3 separate regions of the Homo sapiens genome follow, and regions 2 and 3 are each linked to region 1. Evidence: promoter capture Hi-C in 16 types of primary human blood cells and fetal thymus (Javierre and others, 2016). All regions are on one chromosome and are shown on one strand. Each heading gives the region's core, a stretch centred on a gene start or on the middle of the fragment in contact. The rest is flanking DNA. Distances are from core to core; before and after follow the strand shown.

What was found. Contacts are between HindIII fragments. The CHiCAGO score rates a contact against its expected background, and 5 or more counts as called.
Region 2: a contact is called between a fragment that was not itself captured here and the fragment with the promoter of VIPR1-AS1 in region 1, in 2 of 17 cell types (M2 macrophages and endothelial precursors). The highest score is 8.3, in M2 macrophages.
Region 3: a contact is called between a fragment that was not itself captured here and the fragment with the promoter of VIPR1-AS1 in region 1, in 1 of 17 cell types (M2 macrophages). The highest score is 5.1, in M2 macrophages.

The regions. Positions count from the first base shown.
Region 1 is chr3:42,531,193-42,533,927 of GRCh38, forward strand. It overlaps VIPR1-AS1 (VIPR1 antisense RNA 1), which reads right to left and starts at 1,414. Exons shown (of 3, transcript NR_046654.1): 1 at 1,372-1,414; 2 at 829-903. VIPR1 (vasoactive intestinal peptide receptor 1) reads left to right here. Exons shown (of 13, transcript NM_004624.4): 8 at 279-339; 9 at 611-677; 10 at 1,050-1,141. RefSeq lists an enhancer at 2,187-2,688. The HindIII fragment of the contact is 10,773 bases long and covers 1-2,735 here.
Region 2 is chr3:42,260,085-42,262,784 of GRCh38, forward strand. All of the region lies in intron 4 of CCK (cholecystokinin), which reads right to left. Among named protein-coding and RNA genes, the nearest start is that of CCK, 4.8 kb to the right of the region's middle. The HindIII fragment of the contact is 799 bases long and covers 982-1,780 here.
Region 3 is chr3:42,198,871-42,201,736 of GRCh38, forward strand. TRAK1 (trafficking kinesin protein 1) reads left to right here. Exons shown (of 16, transcript NM_001042646.3): 11 at 307-383; 12 at 1,948-2,184. Among named protein-coding and RNA genes, the nearest start is that of CCK, 66 kb to the right of the region's middle. The HindIII fragment of the contact is 673 bases long and covers 990-1,662 here.

The DNA.
Region 1 (2,735 bases), core at 164-2,663:
AATACACAGGGCCACTGCTAATCTATAAAGGGCCTCTGTCACAATTAGAAAGAGAATGTCCGTCTAGGTAGACACAGCCCTTCAGGCATACAGCTTCACCCCCTCAGTGGAGCATCCCTCCGTGGTGAACAACCTATGCAACCAAAGACAGCAGACTGACAACCCACCCTTTTCTCTCTCCCTCCCTCTCCCTGCTTTTCTCCAAAATCTCTCCCTCATGCCCTCTACCCCTGCTTCCTGTGCCCTCTCTGCTCTTTCACTCTCCCTGGGCCTGACAGGGGTACCCAGCACATTCACCATGGTGTGGACCATCGCCAGGATCCATTTTGAGGATTATGGGTGAGCTGCTGCCCCACACACTCCCCCGGCCGCCATCACTTGGGCAGGCCCCCTGGGTGGGATGATAATGCCATCTGGCCTTGGTGAGTGGACAAAAACCACAGCTCTCGGGCCAGAGGGGAGGCTGGAGGAGGACCTGGGGAGCAACAGACTCTGGGCCCGGGGTTGCTAAAGTGCTCAGGAGCAGAGCTGGGGACAACTGGGGGAGGTGCTGCTGAGTCTCTCTCTGGCTGAGGACAATCCCTCTCATTCCTCCCCACGGTCTGCTCAGGTGCTGGGACACCATCAACTCCTCACTGTGGTGGATCATAAAGGGCCCCATCCTCACCTCCATCTTGGTAAGATACCCTCCCACCACCTAGAGATGGGGAAACAGGCCCAAAGGGCAGGCAACTTAGCCCAAGGTCACATGGGAAATTAGTATCTAGGTCAGAACTGAAACGTAGCTTCCTAATGCCCAATGCAGGATCATCCCCACCCCTGTCCTACCAGTTCTTCCTTGAGCGTAAGCGGATTGGGAGCACAGTCCTTAGGGATTTGAAGGAGGTAGAGTTCCCGGATGACCTGCCCAAAGGGGAAATGCCAGAGGAGAGGTAAGATAGAGAGAGGGGCAGCAGGACCCTGGGAAAGAAGACAGGCCAGCAGTCAAGGGGCCTGAACACCTCAGCCTTCCCGCTCTGACTGCCCGAACTCGGGTCCCCACCCACTAGGTAAACTTCATCCTGTTTATTTGCATCATCCGAATCCTGCTTCAGAAACTGCGGCCCCCAGATATCAGGAAGAGTGACAGCAGTCCATACTCGTGAGTGTGGGCCTAGTGCCTCAGCCCCCAGTACCTCCATCCCCAGTCCTCAAATCATCCCACATCTCCTTGAAGTCCTCCCACCCCAAACATCCAGAGTCACCAAAGAGCCACATTGTTCTTTCCCACCTCCACCATGGCCTGGCTCAGCCCACCACCATCCCCTGCTCCAGCCCCACCCTCACCAGGCTGCACTCAGAGCCCTGCATGCTTCTCCTGCCCACACTCACCTAGCATCCTTCCCAGGTATGCATCTGCTGCCAAGCCAGGGAGCTCAAGAGGACACCGATGACCTGTGTCTTGTTCATACCATGTGCCCAGTCCCTGGCATGTGCCTCACATGGAAAAAGGGTGCAATAAACACATAGTAGATGAATGCCCTGGGGGAGACCCCAGTCCACCAATGAGACAGCCATGTTCGGGACTCAGTATTCCTCAGTAATAATGATGACACCTGCAGTTTACATGCCAGGCACACGCTAAGGGATTTCCATGCATCATGTCATTTCATCCACACAGTCCCCTGCAAAATTATCTTTACTTTACAGGGAGGAAATGACATACACTCCCTTCTCCTTGAGGGTTTTGGAGCAGGTCACCATGGGCAGGGAGAAGGGGGCACAATGTCCATGGACCAGGGCTTGGAAAGGTGTCAGGACTGTTCCCCCTGCTTGGGAGGACTGGAGGAAGAGGCAGGTTTTTTTGCGGGAGCAACAAGGCTTGAAGACAGAGCTAAAGAAACATGAAAAATATGAAAAGGGAGGCTGTGGGAAGGCAAGTAGGGTCTGCATGCTCACAGATGGGAGTAGGAGATTGAGTATCAGTGCTATTGACACAAGACAAACCTGGGACGTCCCACAAGGCCTTCCAGTCCTGGGATTCTTCTTGGCCTGGCTTCTCTTTGGAGAGTCTGTGCTGTGGTTCTAAGATTCCTGGCTAGAATGTCACAGACTGCTGGATTTAGGATTCTATTCTGGAATCCTGTGATTCTCCCTGATGAGACTAAGACTCACATTCCTGGTGTGACTGCATTCTCTCCTGCCAGGTGTGTAGGCGGAGCTTCCCTTCCTGTCTGAGAAGGAAAGGCTGGGGGGGACGGGGGGGGCATCTGCAGTCTGCTGAGGGGCAGCACATCGGGCCTGTGCACCCTTATCCTCTCCTTTGCCGATGGGACCTTATTTCCCCCAACTTACAATGGTTCAAAAGGGCCTGAATCTGAGGCAAACAGAGCTGGCCATGGTCAGGGCCAGGTCTGTGTGGTGAGACAGAAAGGAAACAGTTGTCAGCAGGCAAAAGGGGTGGGGGCAGTTGGAGATGAAGCTCCTCAAGGAGAAGCTGTCAGCTCCCACTCTACACCTCCCCATAAGCCTTTGATTTAAAGAAAGCCTCCATCTGTTAGCCTCCGGTGTGTGGGATAGTTTTGCAGCCGAAGAGGGGTGGGCATTGCTCAGGATCTTGGCATGGCTGAGAACCAGGTCCAGGAAGGAGTGGGAGGGGCAAGGCCAGCTCCTCTGCCCCCAGCTTGCTGTGGGACCTCAGGCCTTGGGCTAGACTTCCTTGGACTGACTGCTAAGGCAGGAGAGACAGAGTCAGA
Region 2 (2,700 bases), core at 131-2,630, 270 kb before region 1:
TTTAATTAAAAACAGAAACAACACAGAACAACGTCCCCACCCTTTCTCTCCCCAACCCCAACCCTTCCCAGTTTTGGAACCAACAGTCAATTCAGCACATTTCAGGTCTTTTTGCAGATATCCTCAGCCTACGTAGAAGAAAAATAGCCCCTGCTATTTAATTGTTCATCATTCAGGTGAAATATTACCCTTGAATTCAGGAAAACCTATAGACCCAGTTACCTGTACACAGTCACATGGAAACATGACCCATCCTTCTGCCTGCTGTGATGATGAGTGCCCACTCTAAGGCCTGGGCACAACCCAAATTTCCATCTAATGGAAGCAAGGTGACAGCTTCAATACGAGCAAGCAGCCTCAGTTAACGGTGGGGGCACCATGTTCAGTCATGGAAGCTGCATTTATCACACACCCTGACTTCCCCGTTCCACGTACAGTTCTGTCCTCATGTCATGTGTATTTACCAGGGTCCTCACTCACTTTCCCAGTGCTGACATAGAGTAGGGGCTTACATCTGATGTATGGAATTGATCAAAGCCTGATTCCTATGGGCCACAAGAGATGGACGGGCCTCCCTCTGAATCACACAAAGAATTGGAAGGGGCTTATTGGAAAGCTAGCCTCGGGACTGTCTGCATGTCACTCAGCTAGTGGGCTGCTGAATCACCTTATTCCTGGAGAAAGACTTTGGTGCTGAGAAAACAGTGACTTTCTTAGCTCTTGCTAAAACTGAAGGGTTTAGCTCTTTTAAACTTTAAAATGTGGAATAGGCAGTACAGCTAGGAAGCTGAATGGCTTCCAGGCCCTCCTGGGGGGAGCAGGACTAGATAGAGTCTCAGCCCTGCTGTTGCGTAGATATGCAACTGCATGTAGGTTACTCAGGCTTTTAGAGCCCCAGCTTCCACACTGGCAAAATGGGTATAATAATATTCACTGTGCAGGGCTGTTGTACTGAGAAAGACAATATAGATGTAGCATTGAAGCTTTGCTGGGCATGGGGGAGGCGCACACTAAATGCCTCTAGATATCTTTACCCACTGCCCTCCAATAGAATTGTTTCTTCTTGGGCCATTGAAAGTGCTGCAGATATTTCCTAATGATAAACTCTTAAGTACTGCTCAAAGAATGCATTGTCTTGTTTAGAACTTTTAAGAATAATATATACTATAGTGGAGCAAAAATCTGATATGATCTCAAAATATGTAAAATATTCAAAATATGTAAAATATTCTATATACTGCACATATAGAAACTGTGCAGTATCTATATGTGTAAGTATTTAGTCCTAGTTCATGTTTGTCACATAGAAGAGTTTGCTTGTTTTTTAGCTAGAGTTGATCCTAGGTGTTGGCATCTAAATTTCCAAGTGATTGCTATTCCCTCCTGGGTTTGTTTGGCACAATTGGCTGAAGGCAAAGGGAGAGGGGGGCTGAGAAGAGGGACTAGAAAGAACTTTCCAGCTAAGATTTATGCTATAAGAGCCATTGTCTAGTATTGGTTCTAGGAAATAATTTGGTAATGAGCTTTTTTTTTTTTCTTTTTTTTCCCTAGAGCAATTTTGGAACCAAGACTCAATTCGGCACATTTCAGGCCTTTTTGCAGATATCCTCAGCCTACATAGAAGAAAAACCAGGGTCTTTCCTAAATTGGAGGAGGGGAGTCCAGGTCCACAGTTAAATGAAAAGCCTAGGATATTTCAGACTGGTCTGGCTGAAATTCAGCCTGTATCTGGGGACAGATACTAAATTATTTTCAGGCAGAGAATCAGCAGGAACTCAAAAGCTTTCAGACTTTCTCTCTCCATCTGAGAAGTATTTCTATCTTTTTCAATTTAATTAGCAGGAAAGCAAAACACAAGGTGGTGGGTGGGGCAATTTCCCAAAGACAGGAAGAAATACAACAAATCACTGATTTGTTCTTTCCTTCTGAAGCCTCTGGGTCAGAGTTCCAGTCTTCCCTTCATGTGAACCCACAGAAGAACTCTGCAGAGCCAAAACTCTTCATCTTATCCCTCTCTGGTCAAGCCAGGGGTTAAGGTTCAAATCCAGGCCCTGGAACACCAGTTGGGTAAGAGAGCTTCATGGAAAAGGCAACACACCTACCACATCCCTTCCAGCAGTGTTTGCTAAGTTCTTTTTTTTTTTTTTTTTTTTTTTAGACAGTTTCACTCTTGTTGCTCAGGCCAGAGTGCAATGGCACAATCTCGGCTCACTGCAACCTCCACCTCCCGAGTTCAAGCTACTCTCCTGCTTCAGCCTCCCGTGTAGCTGGGATTACAAGCATGTGCCACCATGCCCAGCTAATTTTGTATTTTTAGTAGAGATGGGGTTTCACCATGTTGGTCAGGCTGGTCTCGAACTCCTGACCTCATGTGATCCACCTGCCTCAGCCCCCCAAAGTGCTGGGATTACAGGTGTGAGCCACTGCTCCTGGCCTGCTGAATTCTTTTAATGTCCAGCTGTGTTTGTACTGTTCAGCACACTGCTCCACAGCCGGTGTTCATCATTAGTGTCACTGGGGATAAAGTTGGCAGAAAAAAGCTGCCCCAATCCAAAGCATGATTCCTATGGGTCACAAGAGATGAATGGGCCTCCCTCTGAATCACACAAAGAATTGGAAGGAGCTTAGGGGAAAGCTAGCCTCAGGTCAGAATTGCCTGCATGCCACTCGGCTAGTGAGCTGCTGAATCACCTTATTCCT
Region 3 (2,866 bases), core at 76-2,575, 330 kb before region 1:
CCATGGTTACAGCTCCATGGTTTGGCCAACGGAGCATAGGGTTTGCTTTTAGACACCTAATGGCATATGAGTCAGCAGCTTTACACTCAGTGCCCAGTGGCACTGCCACACTCAGAACCTGCCTGGGAAACTGCTCAGCCAGGGTCTCTGACAACAGAGAGTGCTGTTAAGTTTGTGTTGTGGGAAGACCGTGAGCTTCTGATGCCTTGGTTTACTCTCCATGGCCCACCTGGGTGCATACCTCTTTTAGAGACAGAGCATTTGAATTGGCGCTCACTTGACATTTGTCTTTCTGGCTTTTCCCAGGATTCCTTGGCAGCAGAGATTGAGGGAACGATGCGCAAGGAGCTGCAGTTGGAAGAGGCCGAGTCTCCAGACATCACGTACGGCCACAGTTTTTACAGTTTTGAGATTCCCAGAGACCAACTTGGACCAGTGCAGTGTTCAAAACCTAGCAATGTTGAGGCTCTGGGTACCGACAGTGATTGACTATTGTCCTTCCCAGTCCAGATTAAGGGAAATAATAGAACACAGCTGACAGCATCCCTCAGCTCCTCTTATTATCTTTTGTTAGTGTTAATTTTTATTTATTTATTTTTTAGAGATGGGGTGTCTCACTTTATTGGGCACGCCAGAGTGCAGTGGTGTGATCATAGCTCACTGCAGCCTCGAACTCCTAGGCTCAAGTAATACTGCTGCCTCAGCCTCTTGAGTAGCTAGGACTACAGGCGCATGCCACCATTTCCAGCTAATTTAAAAAAATCTTTTGTAGACATAGGGCTTCACCATGTTGCTCAGGCTGATCTCAAACTCCTGGCTTCAAGTGATCGTCCTGCCTTGGCCTTCCCAAAGTGTTGGGATTACAGGCGTGAGCCACCACTGGCCTGTGAGCCACTGTGCTCCTCTTCTTCTTAGGTTTTAAAGACAAATTGTGAACTTCCAGAAAGTCCTAGAAAAGGAGAGATGTCTTTCCCATCTCTCTTAACACAAGCTTTGTCTTGATATAGCTACACGTTTTTATCTTTCCTTTCAGTGGAAAACATTTAAAAAATTTAAAATCAACGTAGTGTGAGATTCAGAGGGGTCTTCAAAGATTTTGTGCAAGGCTTCCATCTCCATCTGAATACACCTAGGGATATGAGCTTCTACCATCTGTCTTCCTACCTCAACTCTTGTACTTAACCTGCCCCAAGGTGTTTGTAAGGAACATGTGGACCAGGTTTCATTGTGTTTTCTGTGTACTCAGACTCCATAGACAGAACTTAAATGAGATCCTGGGAGTGGCAAGTGTCCAAGTGAGGTTTGGTATATGTGTGACACCCTCTGCAGCCCAGAAGGAAGTGGCCATTGTAAAAACATGCCTACCCTTTTCTCTTTAAAAGGGAACAAATGAGCATCAAAGTGGTTCTGCTCCTAAAATAACACTTTCCAAAATTAGACAAATCTAGTATTTATCATCTTATTATAGAAGTGAAAGACTAACTTGAAGTCTTCCTTTTTTTATATGAATGTTCAACAAATATCCATTCTACAAGTATTGATTGATTTCTGCTGCGCTGAGCAGTAAACACTGCCCTGCTGCAGCGTTTATTCTAGTGAATATTATGAAAAAAGAAATCTAGGAGACAAAAGTCATACTTAAGTATTTTTATTTGTGGGTTAAGCTTTAGGGATGTGAAACACAATTTCACTCTTGCTGGCATCACCTTTAGGATACAACCATGCGTTCGAGTCCTGGGTTTAGTGGGTGTTGAATCTCTCAAATTTCGCATTGTGAAGGAGGCAGCCAATACCCTAAGAAACAGGTGGCAGGCACAGGATAGCAGGCTGCTGGGGGACTCGTCATAGGCCAGGTGCCCTTTTGGCTCAGTTGATCATTTTTGGAGGGTTAAACTCCAGGGTTGTGCCCGCATTTGCTCACTCACGGATGCCGTGCATTCTCCCTAGTCACCAGAAGCGTGTCTTTGAGACAGTAAGAAACATCAACCAGGTTGTCAAGCAGAGATCTCTGACCCCTTCTCCCATGAACATCCCCGGCTCCAACCAGTCCTCGGCCATGAACTCCCTCCTGTCCAGCTGCGTCAGCACCCCCCGGTCCAGCTTCTACGGCAGCGACATAGGCAACGTCGTCCTCGACAACAAGACCAACAGCATCATTCTGGAAACAGAGGCAGCCGACCTGGGGTGAGCAAGCTGGGAGTTTTCACTTCTCTGTTTTGGGGTGAGGAGTGGTAGTATGGATTGTCTGCAGGCTCAGTAATTATTAAGAGGGAGGTAGATGAGAGTCACCTGAAAAATACAGACCTGGCCGGGCGTGGTGGCTCGCGCCTATAATCCTAGCACTTTCGGAGACCGAGGCGGGAGGATTGCCTGAGCTCAGGAGTTTGAGACCAGCCTGGGCAACATTGCAAAATCCCATGTCTACTAAACATACAAAAAATTAGCTGGGCATGGTGGCATGCACCTGTAATCTCAGCTACTCAGGAGGCTGAGGCAGGAGAATCGCTTGAACCCGGGAGGTGGAGGTTGCAGCAAGCTGATAATTGCACCACTGCACTCCTGTCTGGGTGACAGAGTGAGACTCTGTCTCAAAAAAAAAAAGCGGACCTTACAGTTCTCCAAATCTGTTCTGCTTACCCACTTGAGCCTATGCCTATCCTTGATATGATATTTTAATCAGCTTAAAGATGTATAACAAGATGATACCAGAAAGTCTGCTTTCCTGTGAAATGCTTGGGGGAAGGATTAATGAATATTTTTTTTTTTGTTAATCTTCACGGTAAGGCTACAGAATAGACATTTGTTTTGTGACCGTTTTGTAGCTTGATGTTGGAAAGGCTGAGGAGGACTCAGGCTGTCTGTCTTG